Linked DNA regions of Homo sapiens: regions 1, 2 and 3 are each linked to region 4. The links are contacts of gene promoters, found by promoter capture Hi-C in human tissues and cell types (Jung and others, 2019). All regions are on one chromosome and are shown on one strand. The core of a region is centred on a gene start or on the middle of the fragment in contact, and the rest is flanking DNA. Distances in the headings are between cores, read along the strand shown. Region 1 holds the start of CCDC43 (coiled-coil domain containing 43). Region 2 holds the start of DBF4B (DBF4B-CDC7 kinase regulatory subunit). Region 3 holds the start of ITGA2B (integrin subunit alpha 2b). Region 4 overlaps LINC00910 (long intergenic non-protein coding RNA 910).

Region 1 (3,014 bases), core at 81-2,580, 1.3 Mb after region 4:
CCCCACCTCATGGTACATTTTGATTCTATTACTAGCCTTTCAAAATTGGTTTTGAGAATAACAAAGAACCCATTTTTCTAACCTGTCCATTGTAATAAATGCCAGAGGATAAAGCCTTTGATGGACAGACAGGTGGCTCTCACAGTAGCAATCAGGTATCCAGGATCTCCTCTAATCCATGAATGCAGAGACAACTCTAGCTTCTACAGCATTTAGTGATGATTCAAGTAAATTTTATTTTTAAGCTTGTATTTAAAAGGAAACAATTTGTTAGACAGCCACAGGTAGCACCTACAACCAATTTAATCTGTAATAACCAGTCTAATAAGTGTGTATGTTGGAGGTGTGGGAAGTGAAGATGAAGGCAGCAGAAATGATCAGGTTGAAAAAGTGGACATCTGGGTGACTTACTATGTAAACATAGCTTAAAGTACACATTTCTGAATACCTTGCTTCTAACAGGCTAAGGACTAAGTTTCTCTCTCTTCGTTAAAGCTCTGATCTCTCTCATACCCTCCTTCCCACCACCAATGATTACTGTAAATACTGTAATGGATCAAGCACGACGTTTGCTTCAGTTCTGCGTGGGCATGAAAAGACTTCTACCACCAGCTTACCTTTTATGGACTCCTACATCCATATAAGAATCAAAAGGGCACTTCCTGCAGGCTTCTGTCATGGGACAGCCCTGGGAACTGCCTTGTAATAGGCACAGACCTCCCAAGAGCATTTTAATACCCCCAGTGAACACTGTAAACGGATGGAAATGGAATTGGTCGTCAGATATTTATGATAACATTCCCATTCTGACATTTCAATGCCTTCGGAAGAACCCTCCTCGGCTCACTCACAAGCATCGGAGAGGGCCTTGTCCCCAAGAATACGAGAAAGCCCTTCCTCTCTGTGTACCTGCAGCTTTCAGGCTTCCCACACCTGGTTGGGGAGCAACCTCCTTCCCCCGCCGCCCAGATATCAGAGGAGTATACCTCTCCCAGGTGAGACCACTGAGCCTCTGGGATACCCGGTAGGGGAGGGAGGGTGCAAAGTACTGACAGGTCCTCAGATGCTGGCCAGAGGCTGAAGGAATGTGTCCAGGCTACTCACCAGGAAAGCAGAGAGGATCCCCTGCAGAGCGTCCAGCTTCTCTTCTTCCTCCTCCTCCTGCAGGATACCCAAGATGTAGGCTCCATAAACGGCTCGGTCCACTCCCAGTGCCTCCAACCGTCCGTCCAGCCAGGAGCCAAAGCCGCCGCCTCCGCCATCGCCTTCGCCAGGGGCTATCGCGGCCACTTCGCTGGGCGCCGCCATCTTGGGGTCAGGGTCCTGCAAGCCCCTAGGGCGCCTACCGCAGTGCCTGACGGGCCGCGCCGCAGGTCCACCGCGCATGCCTGAAGAGGAAGCCCAGGCCCGTAAGTGCAAAGAGCGCAGCCGTGTCGGCCGGCTTGAGAGTTTTGTGCTTTCTAGATGAAGCGCGTCTTCGCATACGTGCGGTCGCGTGATCTCACAAGATGCTTGGCATGTGAGTATTCTTAACAGACTCATTCTACAGTTCGGGAAGTTGAGAGAGGTGCAGTAATTTGGCCAAAGTCACGCGGCTAATAACTACCCAGGACTGGAGCTCAGCGTGGATGCCATCGCTTCCTCCACCCGACCGAGCTGCCTTCCCCGCGCTTTCGGGGGATGCTGGCCGCCCACTCCCACACAGCTGTCTGGCAAGAACCTCCTGACAGCCTGGAATACCCTCGTCGTCGCTACCGACGGCTACCACCTTCACCTGTACAAGCCCTTCCCTGTCAAAGTAAAGGTTGCAGAAAACCTTCCCTGATTCCATGGTAGGCACTCAGTAAATAAACAGGCAACCTCAAGTTATTTCTTCCACTCATTGATTCAACGCGTGCACGGGACTATTCTTTGAGAAGCGTACCCCACCCTCTGCTAGGCACTGTGCCAAAAGCTTTTCATGCATTATCTCTTGTAATCCTCCCTACAGCCCTGTGGGGAGATGCTTTTATTGTCCACATTTTAAAGATAAGGAGACAGGCCGGGCGCCATGTCTCACGCCTGTAATCCCAACAGTTTGGGAAGCCGAGGCGGGTGGATCACCTGAGGTCAGGAGTTCGAGACCAGCCTGGCCGACATGGTGAAACCCCGTCTCTAGTAAAAATACAAAAATAAGGCCGGGCACGGTGGCTCACTCCCGTAATCCCAGCACTTTGGAAGGCCAAAGTGGGCAGCTCACCTGAGGTCTGGAGTTCGAGACTAGCCTGACCAAAATGGAGAACCCCCGTCTCTACTAAAAATACAAAATTAGCCGGGCGTGGTGGGACATGCCTGTAATCCCAGCTACGTGGGAGGCTGAGGCAGGAGAATCGCTTGAACCCAGGAGGCGGAGGTTGCGGTGAGCAGAGATCGTGCCATTGCACTCCAGCCTGGGCAACAAGAGCGAAATTCCGTCTCAAAACAAACAACAACAACAACAAAAGCCAGGTGTGGTGGCGCGGGCCTGTAATCCCAGCTACTCAGAATCGCTGGAACCCGGAAGGCGGAGGTTGCAGTGAGCCAAGATCGCGCCGCTGCACTCCAGCCTGAGCGACAGTGAGACTCCATCTCAAAAACAAACAAACAAACGAACAAACAAAATCACTAAAGATAAGGAGACAGATATGGAGAGAGTCACACAACTAGAGGGCGCCTAACCAGTGGCAAGAACTCTTCTTTGGCAGAGTTATGAGAGCTTCAGCTGACGTCAAAACACCTGGCTCTGGGCTGGAATGAATTACCCAAGAATTTGGTTGGCTTTAGCTGAAGTGCAGAGGAAGCTGGCAAGGTCCTGGCTAACTCCTTCCTCAAATATGTACTGAGTACCTTCAGTATGGCATTGTTGCTGGCACTGAAAACACAAAAATGAATGTCACAAAATATATGTCCTCAGGGGTTTTTAATCCATTAGGAACAGACATGTTTAAACAAATGATGACAATATAGTGATATAAATGTTTTAATGGAGCTTTATC
Region 2 (2,795 bases), core at 186-2,685, 1.3 Mb after region 4:
GCTACTCGGGAGGCTGAGGCAGGAGAATGGCCTGAACCCGGGAGGCAAAGGTTGCAGTGAGCCAAGATTGCGCCACTGCACTCCAGCCTGGGCGACAGAGCGAGACTCCCTCTCAATAAAAAAATAAATAAATATAAAAACTATCACTCTGGTTGCTGAATGGAGAATGGATTATACTGGGGAGAGATAGGAAGCTACTCGGGAGTAGAAGTGAAGAATTGACCGCAGTACTTTAGGCAAGAAATGATAGCAGCTTGAACTAGGGTGGTGGTGGTCTGATTCCAGATGTACTTTGGAGGCAGAGTTAGTAGGATTTTTTTCTTGGAGTGGGGATGGGCACAAGGGAAAGTACTGAAAGACAACTTCTAGGTTTTTGGTTTGAGCAACTGGGTGAATGATTGTGACATTTGAGTAAACAGTAACATTTTACTGAGAGGGGAAGACCTGGGGGGAGAACAGGTGGTTTTTTGACAGGGGCAGCGAAACAAATGTTCTGTTTTGAATGTGTTCAGCCTGAGGTGCCTATTAGACATCCAAATTGAAATAGCCAGTAGGCACTTGAATATGTGAGTCTGGAGATCAGACAGGTCAGAGCTACAGAAAATCTGAAGGTGTGGCAGAGCTGAATTGTAAAGCTGTGGAGCTGGATGAGATCTCCTAGGGAGATAAGGGAGAGGGATAAGGGCTAAAGCGTTGGCATACTCCAAAATATATAGGTGAACAGTGGCTTTGGATCCAGCAAAGGGGACTGAGGAGGAACCATTGAGATAGGGAAAAAAACGGTAGAGTGCTGAGTCATGGAAGCAAAAAGAAGAAAGTATTTCAAAGAAGGAATAGTCCATCTATAAGTTGGATATGATAAGGATAGTATTTCAGACTGTGGAAATCACAGTTGACCTGGATAAGTACAGTTTTTGTGGGGAGGTCCCCAGCTCTCCACTGAATGATCTCTTATTAGATCAAATTTGATCTCTAATTAGCAGTCTAATTAGATGGGTTGAAGAAAAGATGGGAAGTGAGGGATAAAGATACGTCTTTTGAGAAGTTTTGTTGGGCAGGTAATAATTGAAGAACGGGAGGGGGACAAAAATGTGAAGATGAAATGATGTGTAAGTGAAATCTTTATGTAAACTGCAAATGCTCTGCAAGTGTTAGGCTTATTTTGTTATTTAGTATTCAAACTTCTAGGAATTTCAATGCAGCTCAGTGTGAAGAATCACTAAAAAGCGACCACTAGTCCTCAACTTGAGGGCCATTAAGGGGCAAAGCCGTCTAGCCAGTGAAGAGCCAAGAAATGAAGAGACGGTTTGAGAAGACGTAGGCGGTGGGGGAACGGAAAGAGGAATCGCGAAACTAATATTGTCCTTCCAAGGACACCGTAGGGCGGATCTCGCAGCTACGGCGTTCTTTTAGGGGTGGAGCCGGCAGGAAATTTAAACTGAAGCCGCGGCCGAAAACGCCAAGAGATTGATGCTGTAGCTGCCCTGAGATAACCAGGACTGTGGAATCGGGAAGAGCTCATGGAGCTCGCGAATGTAATACGGAGGCCTCTGAGGAAGGAGTACGGAGGCCGAGAAGGAGCCGGCATTTGATGAGCGAACCGGGAAAGGGTACGGATGCCGGGAAGGGGAGAAAGAAAGGCGGAAGGGGTCGTTAATAGCTGAGGCGAGGTGCGGAGTCGTGGAGGGGGCTTAGGAAGTGACCAGCGGGTAGGTGCCGAAGCTGAGGAGGGTATAGGGGCCGGGAAGGAGCCACAGGAGTTGAGGGGACCGAGGAATGAAGGTGGCAGAGGAACGTAGGGGACAACAGCCTGGAGGGATGTATGGAGATTGAGATGGACAGGAGGTGGCCAAGAGGTCACGGCCGTTGACTGAACGGAGTCTGAAAGGAGGCGGAGGGCATGAGGGGCAAGAGCCTGGCGGGAGTCGCGGGATGTAGGTCGGAATGGAGTTGAGTCTTGCTGTTCCCAGGAGTCGCGTTTCTGTGCGCGTTTTGGGAGACAGTAGTGGGCGGGAGGCATGGAAGTTCCAAGGGTTGGTGAAGATGGTTGAGTTGCTGTTATGTCCTTTCTCAGGAGACGATTGCCTCGAGCTGGAGAGTTCCATGGCTGAGAGTAGGCTCCGGGCCCCGGACCTAGGTGGGTAACAGGACAGAACTAGGGACGTGAGGTGAAAATTGCCCCAGGGTCTCTTGGAGAAGACCGAAAAATGTTCCCCCTGTTGGAGTTTTCGATCACTCAGTGTTTTTATGTACTTATTTATTCATTTTATTTATTGGGATGGGGTCTTGCTGTGTTGGCCAAGCTGGTCTCAAACTCCTGGCCTCAAGCAGTTCTCCTGCCTAGGCCTCCCAAAATGCTGGGATTACAGGTGTGAGCCACTTCACCAGGCCCACTTAGTGGTTTTATGTGTGTGTGTGTATGGACGCAGCATCATAGACCGTTTTGGGATTCATGATAAAGGTCAAGTAAGAGTCATATTATGAACAAGATTAACAGACAGATGTGGAGTCAGGATAGAGTGACTTATTAAATATATAAATTAATACATTCATAGTTGTTTACAATAAAATCCTTAAGTTAAACACTGCTACCTAATTAGGTAAGTATTTTAGCACATGGCACTTCCCTCCGTACTGCCCCTTTAGTTAATATCATCTAGTTGGCCGGGCGCGGCTGCTCACGCCTGTAATCCCAGCACTTTGGGAGGCCAAGGCGGGCGGATCACGAGGTCAGGAGATTGAGACCATCCTGGCTAACACAGTGAAACCCCATCTCTACTAAAAATACAAAAAAT
Region 3 (2,735 bases), core at 15-2,514, 1.0 Mb after region 4:
TCGCTCTCGTTGCCCAGGCTGGAGTGCAATGGCATGATCTCGGCTCACCACAACCTCTGCCTCTCAGGTTCAAACGATTCTCCTGCCTCAGCCTCCCGAGTAGCTGGGATTACAAGCATGCGGCACCACGCCCGGCTAATTTTTTTTTTTTTGAGACGGAGTGTCACTCTGTCACCCAGGCTGGAGTGCAGTGGCATGATCTCAGCTCACTGCAACCTCCACCTCCCGGGTTCAAGTGATTCTCCTACCTCAGCCTCCCGAGTAGCTGGGACTACAGGAGTGTGCCACCACGCTCAGCTAATTTTTGTATTTTTAATAGAGACAGGGTTTCACCATATTGGCCAGGCTGGTCTTGAACTCCTGACCTCATGATCTGCCCACCTCTGCCTCCCAAAGTGCTGGGATTGCAGGTGTGAGCCACTGTGCCTGGTCTCTTTTTTTTTTTTTTTTTTGTATTTTTAGTAGAGACGGGGTTTCTCCATGTTGGTCAGGCTGGTCTCGAATTCTCGACCTCAGGTGATCTGCCCGCCTCGGCCTCCCAAAGTGCTGGGATTACAGGCATGAGCCACCGCGCCCGGCCTCCTCTCTGCATTTCAAGGTGTTGAGGGTGGAGTGGTTCATACAACTGACCCTTGGGGAAAAAATAAAGCATCAACTCTTGTCTTCCCTTTGTTCTTGCTGTAGTTTTCAGTGCCCATCAGCCCACATGTGCCCTGCCCTTATACCTTCACCTGAGCCAGTCCCCTGGACCCCAACATTCTTGACAAGAAATCAACCTGAATAGGCCCCACAAGTCACCTTGCTCAACTGCTATCGCAAATGGGAAACTCGAAGCCCCCAGAAGCAGTGATGGGGAGGGGTCCTGCTCTCTCCCAATACCCCAACTTCCCTTACGGCTCACCTCCCATGGCTGTCCTTGTGGAAGTCCAGTGAAAATCCAAACTGGCTGCCATTGGGGCCTGCATAGAAGGTGAGCTGCACTGGGTCCAGGTTCAAGGCCCAGGCTGGAGGGGCAGCACAAGGTCCCAAGAGCAGCAGCACCCACTCCAGAAGCCAGAGGGCTTGCAGTGGACACAAAGCTCTGGCCATCTTCCTTCTTCCACAACCTCCCAGGCAGGAATGGGCCAGCTCCTCCTCCTTCCCTTCAGATTCCTCCACAGGAAGTCTTTTCTTATCAAACTGGAACCCCAAGTAACTTGCTGAGCAACGGGCAGAGCAAAGGGCTATAGCCCCTGGACTCATGGTGGCTAGAATTGCCAGGAAGTGGGTGAGGCCACCCAGAGGGTGGATGCTCATGGCTGAAAGCCATGACTCCTCCCCTTTCCTGAGAATAGTTTATTACCATGTCCTATTGGTTCTGCCTATCAATGATGTCTCTTGAATCTTTACCCCATCTCTACTACCACCGTGCTAGTCCAAGCCACCATCACTTTCTGCTTGGGATAGCGTGATTGTGAACTGGTCCATACTTGTCTACTCTAGCCTACAGTTCTAATCTCCTCCCTTCCCCCATCTGGCTGTACAGCTGTGGTGCTTTGTGACTTGGCCACAGGTCGGGGAAGGAGAAGGAAGCTGCTGCCCCCGATAAAACCTGAGGCTTCTGTATCTTTTTGGATATGGCATTTACCCACTTCCTCCTTCTAGGACCTTGGGCGGCCTCAACCAGCCATATTGGTGCAGCAGCTTCCTCACTCCTCCTCCGTCTTGAGCCAAGCTTTAGTGTGGCCACAGCAGTGCAGTCAGTGCTGGGGACAGGGTGGTGAATGGACCTTGGTCTAGGTGGCAAGGAGATTGGGGATAAAGTGGAGTTATTCCAGGGAATTTTGACTCACAGTTTCTGAGATTATGCATTAGCTGTTCAGTTGAAGGTAGGCCCTCAATCCTTTTTGGGTGATGGAGCTCTTTAACCATTAAGACTTGATTCTGGTTGGGGGCTTTGCCTAGGGGAGCCTTCCCTGACTCCTCAGGCTGGCCGCGTGGGCTAACACACGTAGGCACAGCATTGAGCACACTGTTTACTCTTGGTCCGTTCACAGGATTGTGTAAATGAGTCCCTTGGGAGCAAGGCTCCTTGCTACAGCCCTAGAGACTACCCAAGAGTCCAATGTGTAGTACGTGTATTGCTGAAAGACTGGATGGAAACACACACTAAGGATGGAAGATGCAAACATAGGGTGACAAAGTGAAGGGATGAGTTTTGAGCAGAAAGGCAAAGTCATTTTCTCTCGGTAAGCGGAAGAGGAGGAGTGCCAAGTCTTACTGGCACTCATGCCTTCCCAAAAAAGCAGGTTCTCAGGAAGATTTAAGAGGTCCGCTAGGGGTAACCATAGCCACATTTTCCTTTTGATTTCTATTTTCTGATCAAACTTAACCATTGCCGTATCCTGCTCAACCACCCTGTACCATTTTGAAGTCCCCTCGTAATTTACTACCTCAGCCTAGAGTTAAGAATCTTATCCTTTATAGGACAGGAAGCTAAAAGCCTGAACTTTGGTCTGGGCCTTCTTCATTGCTGAGTTCCCAGTGTCAAGTACATGGGAGGCGTGTAATTAATGTATTTGCTTGAACGAATACTTAACCCAGTCCTCTACTTACCTTCTATCCTCCCACTGTCCTCAGGTGAGTGATTGCTGTATTACTGGTGTATTCTGTGAGGCCAAATATGAACTTACATTTCACTCAAGTTTTCAATAAGTATTTACTCTGTTCAAGGCACTGTGTTGATAAAGGATACA
Region 4 (2,890 bases), core at 47-2,546:
GAGGGTCACTTGAGCTGGGGAGGTCGAGGTTGTGAGCCATGGTCATGCCACTGCCCTCCACCACGGGCCACAGAGCGAGACTTGAAAAAAAAAAGAAAGAGAGAGAGAGGGAGAGAGAGAGAGAGAGAGAGAGGGAGAGAGAGAGAGAGGGAGAGAGAGAAAGAAAGAAAAAAAGAAAGAAAAAGAAAAAGAGAAAAAGAAAGAGAAAGAGAGAAAGAGTTGAAAATCTTGGAGGCCTTTGAAAACATAGAGAGACTGGACTTCTGTTTCTATGATCAGGGTGAGGTATACAGGTGGTCCCCAGTAGCCATGGACTGGGAGAGATGACACGGAGATACTACTTTGTGTAAGAGAAGAGTACATGTTTCAGAATCACAGGAACACCAATGTGTAATGAGCAGGCAGGCCGAGAGAAATGACAACGTATGTCCTTATAAAGACTTAGAGGCAAATGTTTAGAGCAGAATTATTCGAATAGCTTTGAACTGAAAACTACTCAAACGTCCATCAGTGGGTGAACGGATAAACAAAATGTGATATTCAGGAATAAAAACATAATGGTACAACATAATGGCACATGTCACAATGGGGATGAACCTCAGAAACATTATGCTCAGAGAAAGACATCAGTCAGACACAAAAGACCACATACTGTGTAATTCCTTTCATATGAAATGCCAGGAACGGGAACTCTAGACATAAAGTAGATCAGTGGTTAACTCAAGATGAGGGTGGGAGTGGGCAATGACTGTGTAGGGGAGGCAAAACTTTATCTCCTTAGGGTCCTTGCTGGGCCTGAGACTCAAACTGACATAGATTAGCAGGAGGAAAGCTATCATAAAAGCTGTCAATGTAAGTTTTACATGACACGGGAGCCCTCACAAGGAAATGAAAACCCAAGGCCACGATCATATATGTGCATTTGTTCTGGTTATTTTCTGCCTCCCCTTCCACTTGCCATTCTTCTCTCCCCTGCTCTTTTGTACTGCATAGAGCTGCATAAGGGTCGTGAGCCAAACAGCACTCCCTCTTGCTGCAGCTGGTCACAGGGCTGCCCCTGCTACTCATCCTGTGCCTCATGGGCAACATGTTATGCCCATGTCCAAGGTACAGAGAAGTGGACCCAGAGCCAGGGAGAGGTGATAGGGACCTTTGGGCGGGGTGGGAGGTGCTTATTGAGAACAGAGTCCATGTCACCATTAGGGAGAGAGCATGGAAGCAAGCACGTTTGACAATCCTGTGTCTGCCCTGTTTCTGGAGAGGCAGATGCAGACAGCAGGTCAGAGGGAATTTGACTGGACAGGAACTTGGGGGGTTGAGGGTAGCCATTGCATATAACCAAACCTGTTACACATTTCTTTGATATCTGATGTCATTGTGACATGATCTAGAAACCTCTGTCAAAATAGTTCCTAATGATACTAAACAACAACTGAGACTGTTTATTGAGTTTGTGAAATCAAGGAGTGGCTGCTCTTCTAGAAGCAGTGAGTTGATGTCTGTTCTAACATTGTTCTGAGACAAGGAAACCTTTTTATACTTTAATAGCCAGGGTCAGAATTTCTCAGATTGTATATTTGCATGTAGCACAGGAGATGCTCTTTTAATAAAAATCCAGAAATTTGTTGTGCACATTATTCAATAGAGAACAATATCAAATTAAACCAACAACAATGACACTTAACATTTGCCCAAAGCTTGGTAAATGTTGATGGTCACTGTGTACCTTCAGATAGCTGTGTACTCTAACAGAGAGAATGATTTCAAAATCAGTTGAAGAGAAAACGCCTCTGCCTGCCTGTACCTGTATATTACTGTCAATGTCAATCAGGAATGTGTGGGTTCATTCCAGTTATTTTCCGGCTCCCAATCTACTTGCCATTCTTTCATCTCCTGCTCTTTTGTACTGCATAGAGCTACAGAAAGTTAGTGAGTCAAACGACAGCCCCTCTTGGTGCATTTGGTCACAAGGCTGCCCCTGGTACTCAACCAGTGCCTCCTGTCCTCTCCCCTCCAAATCCCCCCTCCTTCTCAGCTATCAACTCTGTTAATCCTGGTGGTTTCCCTGGCTACCGTGACCCAAACTCTCATTCCTGAAAAGTCTAAACCCCTCAAGGCCACATCTTTCTCAAGTCAGGGTTCCTGCACTTGTCCATTCATGTCACAGGTGGACCTGGGAGTAACACGTGGCACCCAAACAGATCACCAGAGTTCACATATATTCCACCTGCCCTCCCTGCATAAGAGCACTACTCCCTCTTCCTGATGATGGTTCAGGGCCATTAATCCCTGCCAAGATGGTGACTGCTCCTGCCTGCTAGTTCAACCTGTCCAGCCACAGCTGTAGCTTGAAGGCTTGAAGTTCAATGGGACCCACTTCTGCTTCCACGCTTTCTTTCCTTTAATTTTAATTTTTATTTATTTGAGACAGGGTCTGGCTCTGTCACCAAGGCTGGAGTGCAGTGGTGCAATCACGGCTCACTGGAGCATCCACCTCCCAGACTCAACTGATCCTCCTGCCTCAGCCTCTGAAATAGCTGTTGTACAGATATTCGTCACCCTGAACAGGGCTTCACTACCTTGCCTAGGCTGTTTCTTTTGTGCTTTGTTTGTTCGTTCGTTTGTTTCGAGATGGGGCTCTGGCTTTGCCGCCTAGGCTGGAGTGTAATGGCGTGATCTCACCTCACTGTGGCCTCCTGGGCTCAAGCCATCCTCCCACCTGGGCCTCCCAAAGTGCTGGGATTACAGGCATGAGCCACAGTGCCCGGACTGAAGATATCCTTTAGAGAAAGAAGCAGCGGGTAGTTTTGCCAAGGCCAGACAAGATTTCTGGAGTTTGGAAAGGGTGAGAGATTGGGTCAGCAAAAGACACATTCTGATCTTTATGCTG

Evidence for each region. Contacts are between HindIII fragments. The study calls those that stand out against the background at their distance.
Region 1: the fragment with the promoter of CCDC43 here is called in contact with a fragment that was not itself captured in region 4 in 1 of the 25 tissues and cell types used here (dorsolateral prefrontal cortex).
Region 2: the fragment with the promoter of DBF4B here is called in contact with a fragment that was not itself captured in region 4 in 2 of the 25 tissues and cell types used here (dorsolateral prefrontal cortex and hippocampus).
Region 3: the fragment with the promoter of ITGA2B here is called in contact with a fragment that was not itself captured in region 4 in 1 of the 25 tissues and cell types used here (spleen).

Annotation. Positions count from the first base shown.
Region 1 is chr17:44,688,446-44,691,459 of GRCh38, forward strand. It overlaps CCDC43 (coiled-coil domain containing 43), which reads right to left and starts at 1,331. Exons shown (of 5, transcript NM_144609.3): 1 at 1,105-1,331. The coding sequence starts at 1,308. It overlaps LOC105371792 (a long non-coding RNA gene), which reads left to right. Exons shown (of 4, transcript XR_007065769.1): 4 at 496-568. It overlaps LOC124904010 (a long non-coding RNA gene), which reads left to right and starts at 1,336. Exons shown (of 2, transcript XR_007065770.1): 1 at 1,336-1,409; 2 at 1,550-1,865. RefSeq lists enhancers at 1,064-1,653, 1,322-1,461. The HindIII fragment of the contact is 3,238 bases long and covers 1-3,014 here.
Region 2 is chr17:44,707,230-44,710,024 of GRCh38, forward strand. DBF4B (DBF4B-CDC7 kinase regulatory subunit) reads left to right here and starts at 1,436. Exons shown (of 14, transcript NM_145663.3): 1 at 1,436-1,610; 2 at 2,075-2,137. The coding sequence starts at 1,592. RefSeq lists enhancers at 1,242-1,756, 1,757-2,270. The HindIII fragment of the contact is 13,873 bases long and covers 1-2,795 here.
Region 3 is chr17:44,388,385-44,391,119 of GRCh38, forward strand. ITGA2B (integrin subunit alpha 2b) reads right to left here and starts at 1,265. Exons shown (of 30, transcript NM_000419.5): 1 at 902-1,265. The coding sequence starts at 1,089. RefSeq lists an enhancer at 1,422-1,481. The HindIII fragment of the contact is 17,139 bases long and covers 1-2,525 here.
Region 4 is chr17:43,383,447-43,386,336 of GRCh38, forward strand. The region is part of intron 1 of LINC00910 (long intergenic non-protein coding RNA 910); the gene reads right to left. Among named protein-coding and RNA genes, the nearest start is that of LINC00910, 4.0 kb to the right of the region's middle. The HindIII fragment of the contact is 7,633 bases long and covers 1-2,890 here.